3 separate regions of the Homo sapiens genome follow, and all the other regions are linked to region 3. The links are contacts of gene promoters, found by promoter capture Hi-C in blood cells and fetal thymus (Javierre and others, 2016). All regions are on one chromosome and are shown on one strand. The core of a region is centred on a gene start or on the middle of the fragment in contact, and the rest is flanking DNA. Distances in the headings are between cores, read along the strand shown.

Evidence for each region. The method cuts DNA at HindIII sites, captures the fragments that hold promoters and counts their contacts. A CHiCAGO score of 5 or more calls a contact.
Region 1: a fragment that was not itself captured here is called in contact with the fragment with the promoter of TM6SF1 in region 3 in 1 of 17 cell types (megakaryocytes); the score reaches 5.8 in megakaryocytes.
Region 2: a fragment that was not itself captured here is called in contact with the fragment with the promoter of TM6SF1 in region 3 in 3 of 17 cell types (M0 macrophages, M1 macrophages and M2 macrophages); the score reaches 8.8 in M0 macrophages.

The regions. Positions count from the first base shown.
Region 1 is chr15:82,747,852-82,752,222 of GRCh38, forward strand. SNHG21 (small nucleolar RNA host gene 21) reads left to right here and starts at 2,713. Exons shown (of 3, transcript NR_110098.1): 1 at 2,713-2,997. RefSeq lists enhancers at 2,397-2,526, 2,817-2,886. The HindIII fragment of the contact is 2,402 bases long and covers 790-3,191 here.
Region 2 is chr15:82,843,338-82,847,616 of GRCh38, forward strand. It overlaps a transcript of HOMER2 not described here. Among named protein-coding and RNA genes, the nearest start is that of WHAMM, 36 kb to the left of the region's middle. The HindIII fragment of the contact is 1,426 bases long and covers 2,229-3,654 here.
Region 3 is chr15:83,105,590-83,110,076 of GRCh38, forward strand. TM6SF1 (transmembrane 6 superfamily member 1) reads left to right here and starts at 2,056. Exons shown (of 10, transcript NM_023003.5): 1 at 2,056-2,183. The coding sequence starts at 2,092. RefSeq lists silencers at 1,684-1,963, 1,994-2,113. The HindIII fragment of the contact is 11,695 bases long and covers 1-4,487 here.

The DNA.
Region 1 (4,371 bases), core at 741-3,240, 360 kb before region 3:
TGTAATGATTAAGAAGTTATTTCTCCAAGAAGACATAACAGTCCTTAAAGTGTATGTGACTAGCAACATAATATCAAAATATGTGAGGTAAAAACTGATAGAACTGCAAAGAAAAACAGATGAATCCATTGTCATAGTTGGAGATTTCAACATATTGCTATCAGAAATAAACAGATCCAGCACAAAGAAAATCAGTAAAGACACAGTTGAACTCAACAACACCATCAATCAACTGAATAATATTGACATCTGTAGACGACTTCATTTAACAACAGCAAAATACACATTTTTCTTAAGCTCATAGGGAACATTCACTAGGAGAGACTACATTTTGGGCCATAAAATACACTTTAACCCACTTAGGAGAATAGAAATTATACAATGCCTGCTCTCAGACAACAATGGAATTTAACTAGAAATCAATAATGGAAAAATAACCTAGAAATCCCAAAATATTTGGAGATTAAACAATATACTTCTAATTTACATATGAGCCAAAGAAGAAATTTCAAGAGAAATTTAAAAATATTTTGAATTAAATGAAAGTGAAAATATAATCAAAATTTGTGGGAAGCAGTTAAAACAGTGATTAGAGGGAAATTAACACCATTGAATGCATATATTAGAAAAAATGAAAGATCTAAAATCAATTTTAGCTTTCACCTTAGGAAAACAGAAAAAGAAGAGTTAATTAAATACAAAGTAAGTAGAAGAAAACAAATAATAAAAATTAGAGCAGAAATCAATGAAATTTAAAACAGAAAATAGAGAAAATCATTGAAACCAAAAAGCTTGTTCTTGAAAAAGAGCAATAAAAGCAAAACACTTCTAGTAATCTAACTATAAAAACAATTGAGAAGGCATAAATTACTAATATTAGAAATGAAAGAGGGGAACATCACTACAGATCCCATGAAGATTAAAAGGGTGATAAAAACTCTATGCCCAAAAACAAAAACAAGAAAAAAACTCTACGCTCATAAATTTGATAGCCTAAATGAAATGGACCAATTTCTTGAAAGATACGATCTGGCAAAACTCACACAAGAAGAAACAATCTGAATAGGCCTATATCTATTTTTTAAATGGAATCAATAATTGATAACTTTCAGAAACAGAAAGTACCAGGTCCAGATGGTCTAACTGGTGAATTCTATGAAACATTTAAGGAAGAAATTATGCAAATTATCTATAGTCTCTTTCAAAAGATAGAAGTAGAGAGAATCTTTCGTAACTAATTTTTTTTTTTTTTGAGATGGATTTTCGCTCGTCACCCAGGTTGGAGTGCAACGGTGCCATCTCAGCTCACTGCAACCTCCACCTCCTGTGATCAAGCGATTCTCCTGCCTCAGCCTCCCAAGTAGCTGGAACTACAGGCACCTGTCACCACGCCCGGCTAATTTTTGTATTTTTAGTAGAGGCGGAGTCTCGCCATGTTGGCCAGGCTGGGCTCAAACTCCTGACCTCAGCTGATCCGCCCACCTCGGCCTCCCAAGGGGCTGGGACTACAGGCGTGAGCCACCACGCCCGGCCCCTACCCATCCTTTAAAGGGATACTCCGAATGTCTATGAACACTCAGATAAAACTGAACTAAATTTGAATCCACTTGTACTACATTTATTTGTCAACTCTTCGTTTGTCTACTTCTTGAGAACTTTAACAGCTGTACTGGGTTGGTTAGTGTCGCCCCCAAAATTCATGTCCTTCCTGGAACCTCAAAATGTGACCTTATTTGGAAAGAGTGTCATTGCAGATGTGATTAGTCATGATCAGGTCATACTGGAGTAAGGTGAGCCTTTTACCTAACAGGACTGGTGTCCTTATAAAACACACAGAGACAGAGACACACAGGGAGTATACCATTTGATAACAGAGGAAGAGAATGGAGTAATGCAGCTACAAGCGAAAGTACACCAATGATTGCTGGCTCCCACTAGAAGCTAGGAAGAGGCAGGAAGGATTCTATCCAGAGTCTCAGAAGAAGCAAGACCCCACTGACATCTTGATTTCTGACTTCCAGACTCCAGAAAGCGAGAAAATATATCTGTTGTTTTAAGCTATCCAGTGTGAGGTACTTGGTTATGGCAGCTTCAGAAAACTAATACAACAGCAATTTCAATTTCTACTTTATCTTCCTAGCCCCAAGAGTACCATGTGGCTATTAGAGTACAGGATTATGTAGGCTCTCAAATCCCTTCCATGGTAAAAGAATGATTGGGCTTCCAGCAGTGGCCAAGAATTGCCAGACGCTTATGAGCGCCTGCTGCGAGATGCTTGTACAGTGAATGCTCAATAAAGTGGTGGCCATTATAACCGCAAGCAATGAGACTACATAAATAGTAAGAAACGAAATAGAACAAGGGGCAGCGGGAGCAAAGAGAGAAACAAGGGCAGCTGAGGAAGGAAGCCTCAATTCCCCGGAGGACATCCGCGGGCGGAGGAAATGTGAATCTGCAAGTCGTTCTCCCAGACCCCGCTTAACGATTCCCGGCCCTTTCTCCACTCCCTACAGCCCTCGGACCCAGCAACAACCGGATCCTGTGCAGGTCTTCCCTGAGTCCAACGCGATTCTCCTGGATAACGTCAACCAGCTGAGCGATTCTGAGCCTGCGCGAAGCTCCTCGGCGCTTCCAGTAATGTCACGCTGGTGCGTGGGGCGGGACTTCCTCTCACGCGCAGGAAACGAGAAGGGCTTTTCCGCCGGAAAGAGAGTGGATTTACTAGGAAGGTGGGACGTTGGAGGGGTGGCCGCATGGAGTGAGTACTGTCTCTGGCCACCGAGCAGAGCCAGTGACAGCAGCGTCCTGGTAGGCAGGCAGGCGTATCAGGTTTCAGAGGATGCGGCTGGGAACGGGAGTAGAGGTGAGGGGTCGTTGCATCTGTCGCGGTGTGTATCTTTTGGGGGTTCAGCGCCACCAGCGACTTGGGCCTCATTCATCGCGCTTACATTTCTCCACCTCATTTGAAGAACGAGCTTCGTAGCCCACGGAGCTGAGGTTAGTATAAATGTGGAAGGGAGAAGTATGCACTCACCAGACTAAAGTTTACAGTTTTCACATAGGTTGTGCTGTTCTGTGTCCCATAAGGGCCTGCGAGAACCCAGACATTCTGAATCGGTGACGCCTGCTGGAGGCAGCAACACCTGTTGCATTAATTTTAGAACACACACACACGGAGTTGGTAATTCTTAAGCTTCCTGAATCTGCTGGCGGTCATTTGGTGTCAGAAGCAGAGCAAAGCCATCTTGGTCATCTCCCTCCTTTTAGCTTAAACCGAAGCATGATGGGGGAGATAGGCCGAAAGTTATACAGCTTGTTAATAACAGAGCCGAGAGTGAAAGCGCGATTTCTTCATTTTTAGCCCGGAATTATTTGTTGTACACCATACTGTTTCTTTGCATTGCTAGACAATTCGTCTTTTTTTACGAGGTTGACGGGGAGTTGCAAGGAGGAGTGAAAAGGGTGGTAATGTACATCTACATACAGTATAAATCCATGAAAGGCAAAATCCGTGTGTGTTAGGAGTTAGAACTGTGTCAGTCATCTACATCTTCCATAGTTTGTAGATGGAGATGAGTCTGTCACGTCGCTCTGTCATTTCCCTTTTAGCAACAGATGTGTAGTAACAATATGTGAAGAAGGAACTTTCATTGCCTGTTACATACATTTACACAGAGCGGCCTGGGGTTCACTGAGCAAGCTATGTGCTCACCCTAGAAAACTGATTCTGTAGAGTGCACTGCAGTCAAACCTCAGCTGTTTTAAGTAATCTTACATTTGGTGCTTGTGTGGCTTAAGTGTCTTGTGCATTATTGCAGTCATCTCTCTCATGTTATGAAATGGAAATGTGTTGTAGGAAAGTGGCAAGCCTGTGAAGAAAGTAAGTGAGCCTGAGGCCCAGAAAACCATACATTAGCAAATACTGAAAAACTGTTCACATCACATAGGGGGTATCTGAAGTACTGAGGAGCTCATTTAACCGGATGTTCATTGTGGGGAAGCCATGAATAGCCTCCCTCTCCTGGGTTCAAGCGATTTTCCTGCCTCAGCCTCCCGAGTAGCTGTGATTACAGGTCCATGCCACCATGCTCGGCTAATTTTTGTATTTTTAGTAGAGACAGGGGTCTCACCATGTTGGCCAGGCTGATCTCGAACTCCTGACCTCAGGTGATCCTCCCACCTTGGCCTCCCAAAGTGCTGGGATTACAGGTGTGAGCCACCGTGCCTGGCTCCTATATAAACAATTTTCAAACTTGTTGGTCTCAAGAGCCACTTAACAGTTATTGAAGACTCCAAAGAGCTTTTGTTCATATGAAAATAGTTTTGACTTCACTAACCCCCAGAAGGGCTTTCAGAAGCCCCCACAGAAAC
Region 2 (4,279 bases), core at 1,692-4,191, 260 kb before region 3:
GGAGGTTGACACATGAGAATCGCTTGAACCCGGGAGGCGCAGGTTGCAGTGAGCTGAGATCACGCCACTGCACTCCAGCCTGGGGGCCAGGGTGGACCCCGTCTCAAAAAAAAAAAAAAAAAAAAAAAAAAAAAAGAATTGGAAAGACCTGCATAAGCATGACGGCATAGGTAGCAACCATTAAAAAAAAAAAAAAAAGTAACAGATAAACTTGACTAAAAGGTGTTTTTTTAAATGTCTAAACGTTTTTAAAAAGCCATACGTGCAACTTAAAATTTTGTTTTACAATGTTTATGAAATAAACCTCTTAGAAATCAATGATACTGCTGAACACCTTAAAGGGTTACATTTTAACCAAAAAAATATTTTTTTTAGCTCTCTGTCCCCAGGGTAACTCCAGTGTTAAAGAGGAAGCAGTACACACTCACACACTGTGGGTGGGAGTATAATTGGGTCTGTCTTTCTGGAAGGCAATTTGAGGCAATACATATTACAAGTCCTAAAAATGTGCATTCTTTTTTATTGTTGCAACAGGATATGTTATGCTGCAGTTAACCAATTAACCCTGAAACCCCAGTGTTTAACACCTAAGGTTTATTTTTTTTATTCATGCTACCCGTCCATGCAGGGTGGCAGGTGAGGGTAACATGAAGGGAGAAGGGGGCTGCTCCACGTAGTCACTCAGGGATCCAGGCTTGACAGAGGCTCTGTCCCTGGGACATCAGCATTTGCTGAGGGAAGGGAAGGCAGACACTGCGGAACTGCTCATGGGCATTTCAGTGTCTGTCTGGAGCTTCATGTGTCACCTGTGCTCACATTTCATTGGCCAGAATTAGTCATAGGACCCTGAATGAGTACAAGGGGGATGGAGGGTGAAGTCCTGTATGCCTCAGAAGGAAAGGAGCCGCAGATAGGGAGGCGCGTACTTTTGAGCCAGTGATAACTTCAGAAAATTACCCTAAGTCAATATTCTGAAAAGTTCGCAAGGATGTTAGAAGAACTTCATTATGTCCTTGACTACAACAGTAAAAAAATTGGAAACAACCTAAGTATCCAAGGTACAACCTACATAGAGGTTAAAAATAATGTAATTACATATTTACTGATATAGAAATCTATTCACAATATAGCATTAAAAGGGATAAAAGTTATAAAACAGTATGTATAATATGATTATATTTCATGGAAAAAGTAATAAAACACACACAGATGCATAGAAAAAAGTCTGAAAAGATAAAAACTGAAATGTTAACAGTGGTTATAATCAGATAGTGTAATAACAGGTGATTGGTTTTTTTCCCACTCATCTGGAATTTCTTTAAAAAAAGTATTATATTATTTATGTACCAAGAAAGCATTTAAAAAGGGAAACAAAAAACAGTACTCTTGGGAGAGTTCACTTATCCACTCCACTCTTCTCATTAAACTCTTATATTTGATGCAAGGAATGTCTTCTTGCCTGTCACATCATAAGACGCTGCTCTCACAACTGACGTAAAGTCGGGACTTCCTATTAAAAGCAGTACAAGAGGGTAAAAACAATAGCACAGCCTCACAGCTGTGAATCATCAGTCCTGCCCATCACTCGCCAAAACATGCACCACTTGGGACTCTGCCGTGGTTTACGGGCTCCTGCCAGGTGCCCTGGGGGTCTCTAGGGCCCAGGAGAACACTTTGCCGCAAGGCTCTGCACCGTCAAAGAGAGTAGGGCACTGAACAATTCCACTTCAAACAAAAGATCCACAAACTTCTGGTAAATGGATTCCAGAACATAGATCACCACCACCAGAAATAGAAAATAAAGTCTCCTCTTAGGTATACATATTTTTAATTAAAAACGCTTCCTTACTGTTTCTCCCACTTCCCCTTTTGCTGTTTCTTCACACACACACACACACACACACACACACACACACACACACACGCGTGCGCACATACACAGTCGTAAGTTCACTAGAACATTTCATCCAGCTCAAAATTCTTACCAAAGCCACCTTCCTGCCTGGGTAGTGTTTAAAGCCAACTAGAAAACCCATATTCTTGAGATCGGTACATGGAAGAGGCATGTAAGTAACATTTTCTAGACTAGACAGGAGTCCCTCTCCATGCCAAAACCCCCATCATCTCCAGAATATATACTGTTTCTTTGGGGAAGCCATGTACTCAGAAATTAGGGTCCTTTTAAAGCATGCATATCTTTAAAAATATACATGGACATTGATCTTGCAAGCTTCTAGTTTGCAAGTGCTTCAAAATCTAGTGATGTCTCAAGGCAATGAAAGAATTTAGCTTCTAGAAGGATGAATGGAACAAACAATCCACTTCTGGATATTAGCAAAGACCAGTGGCTGCCTCTTTTGAGTGCCTGTGCTAAGTCACATCACGTCTGCCTTCTTCCCAAAGGTGCACCTGGCCACATGTGAGGTCCCACCATAACGTCCCCAGCGCGTCCTGTGGTTGGCTCTCATCCAAAATTGTCCCTGGTTTCTATAGAGAAGGAGACTTTTCTAAAGAAAAAGAGCCCTGTTAAAATAGGCAGAGCATGATGTTTCTGGGAGGCATATTCACTGTATTACGCTCCACCCTTTACTTGATGTTTTGCATCAAATGTAGTCCACAGCAGGCAGGCGCCTGCCCACCACCATCAAGGCTGTGCTCATGGAGCCTGCAGGCTGGAGACCAACTGCCCTCTGTGCACAGTCTTCCTGGGTGTTGATCAGGTCCCGTTCAAGCTGCTCCCACCACTGAGCAAGGCTGCTCCCTCCCCAGAAAGCCAGAAAGGAGTGCATCTCCAGGAAGGGGCGGGCAGTGGACAGGCCACCCCCAGCCAGAACTCTGTTTCCATTCCTGCGATCTCAGGGCCTCCCACTTGTTTTGAACATACTGCTCTGCCTCCACTAAAGCCATCAATAAAGAACTCAGGGTGTGTTTGTTTTCCATAGAACTGGCCTCACAGGCAGAGACATCATTTTAACCAACTTTCTTGGAAAGATTCCTGCAAAACCAGAATCATTCCAAAGTGGAACTTATCATTTATAACAAACATTCCTAAATGTCATTCGGATTCACATTTTTGTAAACTGTCCTTTGCTGTGGACACATATTGAAATAATATAATTGTAATATGCTCTTATCAGGATATAAGAATTATTTTCTCTTGGCACCCACGGGTCACCAAAGGGACTAGAGTGGCATGTCTCAAAAGATACTGCATCAAGGTCCAGGAGACCTGGATGCAGAGTCCACGCTGCTGGTCACCGCTGGGTGACCCTGGGCGTGTCACTTTCTCTGTCTCTACTTCCCATCTGCAAAATGCAGGTGACAGTCTCTGCCCTGTTCTCTCACCCAATTAAAGTCTAATGTGATGGCAGGCAGGAGAGATGAAACTGAGGGGCCACACAAGTTCGAGGTCTTGTGTGGATACTGGTTCTCTTTCCCTCCAAGGCCTGACCATACTGTCCCAACCTGTTGCTCTGGTGGTTTTACATTCCCCGGGCGGCACTAGGAAGGCTTCCTCGCCACTCCCAACTTTAAAATGCATCCAGCTGGGTCTTGACTGGAATGAAAGGTTATTTTTAAAGGTCCTCTTGGTTAAAGGGTTCCAAGTTTTAGTTGATCTTTTTTAGACACCAGGTTTCATGGAGGCAGAAGGAAAGCTTATCAAGGTATAGCAGCCAGTCTTGGAAACACCAAAATCAGGAGACCTCAATTGCAAACTGAAAATGCAGTCCTGGCCCTGCAGCTTCCAGGCAGCACAAGCGGCTGCGATGCTCACGAGTGAATGGCTTACATTCTGCCTGAGTCTGGCGTAAGGTTATGACAACAGTACTGAGACTGGGCTGGATGTCAGAATAAACGAGGGCACGTCACACCAGCTCAAGGGAACACCGTCCAGGTTGCTCCAGGGCCACTATTTTAAAAGAAAGTAAATGAAAAGACACTGAGATCTTCAGAGAAAAGCAGAAGGAATGGAAAGTTCAGTGCTTTTGTAAAAGCTGTTGTGCTTTCACGGCCAAGCCCAACTTACCTTTCCCTTTAAGGGAGTCCTTACTACTCTTAGCTCCAGGGTTGCAACAGCTGTAGAGCTGGACACACAGCAGGAGGAATCCAAGTTCCTCACCTGCTGCCCACAGGATGCTCACCACACTCTTCAGTGCTTGGTGAACTGGGATCATGGGTCTCAACTGCACAGCAGCCCACTGTGGAAATGGCTCTTCCAACATTTTCTACACCTCCACTTCTGGAGTTTTCTAAAGTCACTGCTATCAGAATGTACAAG
Region 3 (4,487 bases), core at 806-3,305:
GATGGAAGGGATGGGCTGGCTTGGGAGCCTGGCTGGGAGCTCAGAGGTATAGGAGGAAGTGTCTCTTGTCAGGGAGGAAGTAGGAGTTTAAGGAGAGTGGTGAAGGTTAGGGGTGGAAGAGGGTGATGTGCAGGTGACAGGTGAGGACACCTCTTGGAGAAACTTTGGATATGTCACAGTGTGGGCCAAGGCTTAAACGTTATGCACTCAGAGCTGGAGAAGCCTTCAAGAAGAACTAGGATGAAGGATTAGGAGAACTGGCATTTGAAAAGTGGAGTGGCCCTGGAGCAGGCCATACCTCCTCGTAGCTCATTTTCCTCATGTCTAAAATGAGCCAAATGGTCTTTTAGAGGCTAGGTGCGGTGGCTCACACCTGTAATCCCAGCACTTTGGGAGGCCGAGGAGGGAGGATCACTTGAGCCCAGGAGTTTGAGACCAGCTTGGGCAACATAGTGAGACCCTGCCTCTACAAAGAAGTGGTGCGAGACTGTAGTCCCAGGAGCTAAGGAGGCTAAGCTGGGAGGATGGCTTGGCGTGGGAAAGTGGGGACTGCAGTGAGCCCTCATCTCTCCACTGCCTCTAGCCTGGTTTGCAGAGTGAGACCCTGTCTTAAAAAAATAAAAATAAAAATAGGCTGGGCGCGGTGGCTCACGCCTGTAATCCCAGCACTTTGGGAGGCCGAGGCGGGCGGATCACGAGGTCAGGAGATCAAGACCACGGTGAAACCCCGTCTCTACTAAAAATACAAAAAATTAGCCCGGCGCGGTGGCGGGCACCTGTAGTCCCAGCTACTCTGGAGGCTGAGGCAGAATGGCGTGAACCCCGGGAGGTGGAGCTTGCAGTGAGCCAAGATTGCACCACTGCACTCCAGCCTGGGTGACAGAGCGAGACTCTGTCTCAAAAAAAAAAAAAAATAAAAATAATAAATAAATAAATAAATAAATAAATAAAATAAACCCCTCAAATGGCAACAGCAAAAACACATAAATGGTCTCTTAAATTCCCTGGAAGTTGTAAAGACAGTAAGTACATGCCGGTACCTCCCTCAGTTGCTTGAGCTGTTCTCCTGGAACTCACTGCCCTTCAGATAGCCACAACACTTGACACACAATATTTTCCATACCCGTAGGCATCTATCATTCAGAGGAAGAGGCTTATCTTCCAGTCTTTGTACCCTGCAGGGCCCAATGCAGGCTGGCTGGTGGGCACCTGGCCTCCAGGAATGCTTCCTGGAATAGCAATGAATGGCGCTCTAGTCTCTTAGAGTCTCAGCATTTATGTCCATTTCAATTAAAGAAAAAAAAAAAAAAAGAATCGCAGGAGGTGGTGTAGTGAGCAGCACAGGATAACGCGCTTCGTAGGTATGAACTCAGTTAACCCCACAGTCACACTATGAAGTGTGTTATCCCCATTTCCCAGATAAGGGAAAAGACAGAGAGGTTAAGTAATTTGACCAAAGTCAACAGCTGGTGACTGGAGAGCCAGGTTTAAAAACCGGATGCCGGCTCCGTGCAGCAGCCCGCCGATGGCTACTGGAGCGGAGAGGTTCCGAGGTTTCAGGGGCATTTTGTCCTTTCCCACTTCTGGGCCGTGGGCTCCCCCATAGACGATCCCGCGGGCCCTTCCTCCTCTGACACCCTCGGATCTGGTTCCACCTTTCCCGGACCGCAGCTCAGCCCCGCGCCTCTCCAGCTCTTCGATGACCGGTTCCCGGCCGTGCCCCGGGCCCTCCCTCGGAGCGCGCGCCGCCAGGGGCACCTGTCCCTGCGCGGGGGTGTCGCCGCCCCTCGGCGCCGCCGGGCGCTTGCCGCTGAGCCGTGGCGCCCCTGGCAGGAGCACTGCAAGGACGCCTCCCGGGACTGCACCGCGGCCCTGCGCACTTGGGGCGACGGGGCCAGGCGCGGGGGACGGCTGCGGGCTGGGAGGGCGCGCGGAGGAGACACCGCTGAGGGGACGCCGCTGAGGGCGCCACGCGGGGGGCGCGGCTGAGGCGCCTCGAAGGGCAAGCGCCAAGGGGGCGCGGGCGCCGCCGGAAGCTGGGGCGGGGCGCCCAGCGGGATGCGGTGAAGGGCGAGCGGCGCGGCGGCTGCGATGAGTGCCTCTGCGGCCACCGGGGTCTTCGTGCTGTCCCTCTCGGCCATCCCGGTCACCTATGTCTTCAACCACCTGGCGGCCCAGCATGAGTGAGTGAGCCGGCGCGGCGGGGGTCGCGCCGAGGGGCGGCGGGAGTTGGCTCGCCGCGACGGGAGCCTCGCAACTTTTCCGAGGGGGCTGGGACCGTCCGCCGCGGGACAGAGGTTCGTGGCCGCAGGGGCTCCCCGCGCCTGGCCAGACTAGGGGGGCGCCCCAGGGGTCGCACGGGCCGGGTCTTGGAGCCGGGCCCTGAGGTGCCCAGGCTGGCGCATTTCGGGATGTTGGTGCCAGCACCGCGCCAGGTGCCCGGGGTCACAGGCGTCAATACGGCCATGCCCCTGCCCTGGAGGGGCCCAGGGGCCGGTGGGGAGCGGAACAAACACGGACACTACGAACCTGGCCGTGTCAGCTCGTTTGTGCCTTGTTCTTTTTGCATCTCACGGGAACGTTTCCATGTATGGACTTTCGCATACTTATCATTTCTTATTAATTTTAGAAACTGTTGTGAATGACTAGCAGAAATAGCCCGGAACCAACAGGCAGAGACGTGGGTTCTAGGCCTGGCTTTGGCACTGACGGTGTCTGGCCTGACGGTGTTTGGCACTGACGGTGTGGTCTGGCCTCGGTTTTCCGGTCAAGTGGACTTTGTGTGCGTCCTATTGTAAGGTTCCACCGAGACCTCTTTGTGAAGGGGCGTTGTGAATGGAGAAGTGCTTCCCAGTGCCTGCGCTGGGGTAGGATGGGGACAGGCAGCAGAGGCAGAACACTTCAATGTGAAGGAAATGGGTGGGGCTGATGGAGGGGGACAGGGCTTGGGTTCGAAGCCCTGCCTCCCACTCCACTGCAGGGATCACGGACTAACCTGCAGCCGGCAGCTGAAGGCCTGAGGGTCGCCGGGTGTTGGGACAGGCGCCAGCCTCTGTTCCTGCTGATGTTGGTTGCTGTCTGGAGGGAGGAGGAAGTAACCTGCTATGTCTCTCAGCTGTTGGTGCTAAGGAAATTGCATCAGTCTGTAGGCTGCAAACCCCCTTCAGCTGGTCAGGCCGTGGAGTGTCTGTACATAGGGTGGTAACTTCCTCCTCTCCAGCTGCCTGGCCGCCTGATACAGGCAGCACCCACACTGAGTGCTCACCAGGCACCAGCAGTGTCTACCCTTGGTCTGGCCCAGTCTCTGGAGGCATCCCCTGGAGGCAGCTGCTCTGGGCCACCGAATATTACATGCCTGTCAATATAGTGCATGGGGGACCCTGTGCTCCAAAAAATGGCATTACGGGTAGTTCAGTGAAGATATACTGAGTGCCTACTGTGTGTTTGGCACTGTTCCAAGTGTTGGTGACATAGCTATGAACAAGCCAGAAGAGGCTGTGGAGGCAGGTAATGAGATAGACATCAACAAACATTAATACATCGATAGTGACATGCTATGAAGATAATAAAATAGGGTGACTGGGGAGGGGGCTGGTGGCCAGGGAAGGCTTCTAGGAGGAGGTAACACTTGAGCTATGGGAAGATCTGGGAATGGAGCCTGTCGGGCAGGAAAATGGAGCAGTGCAGGGGAAGGAATTGGATGGGCGTAGTAGGTATTTTGGAAGGTGAACAGATGGGGCTTACTGAAGAGGGTTGCATGGCAGCAGAGGATTTGAGGATGAGCCCTAGGTTTTGGCCTCAGCCACTGGGAAGATGGTGATGGCATTTACTGAATACAGACTGAACTATGTATTGCTGTGCATGATGGAGCGCACTGGCAAGCACTACAGCATTTTGAATAATTAGTGTCAGCCATTCTTCCTGTCCTCTTGCAGGTTAAAACCCCCGTGGCCTTTGATTCCTCTCTTCTTTCTCCACTCCCTTCCTCCTACTGTCTGCTTCCCCATAAGTCCTGGGGCTCTAGTGTCTGTTCCCTCCTTTCAGTTCTCCCTGGCACTGGCCCTTTCTGACCTGGACTGTGGCAAAGGCTCCGGTGCAAGTCTCGCTGCCCAGCCCCGCTGCGTGTTTCTCGGCCTCGGCCCCCCAGTCCCAGCCCACGCACTAGTGCTCCTGCCGCACCAGCCTGCCTTTGCTCCTTGACCATTCCTCCTCCTCTCCAGCCTCTAGCCCGGACTCCTGCTGCTCCCTGACAGGGATGCTGCCTTCCTCCTATCGCAGACTGTTGAAGCCGCACCTGGACTTTATGGCCACTTCTACCTTCTGCAGACCCTCCCTCTCTCTCCTTTGAGCTCCCTCAGTCCCTTGTTTGCACCTTTCTCCCGAGAGTTACTTTCCTGTGGTAAGAACTTACCTGCCCCGGCTATAGCTCACCCCTCTGTACTGTCCTGCCCAGGCCAGCGCCGTGTGCATCGTAGGCACTCAGGTAT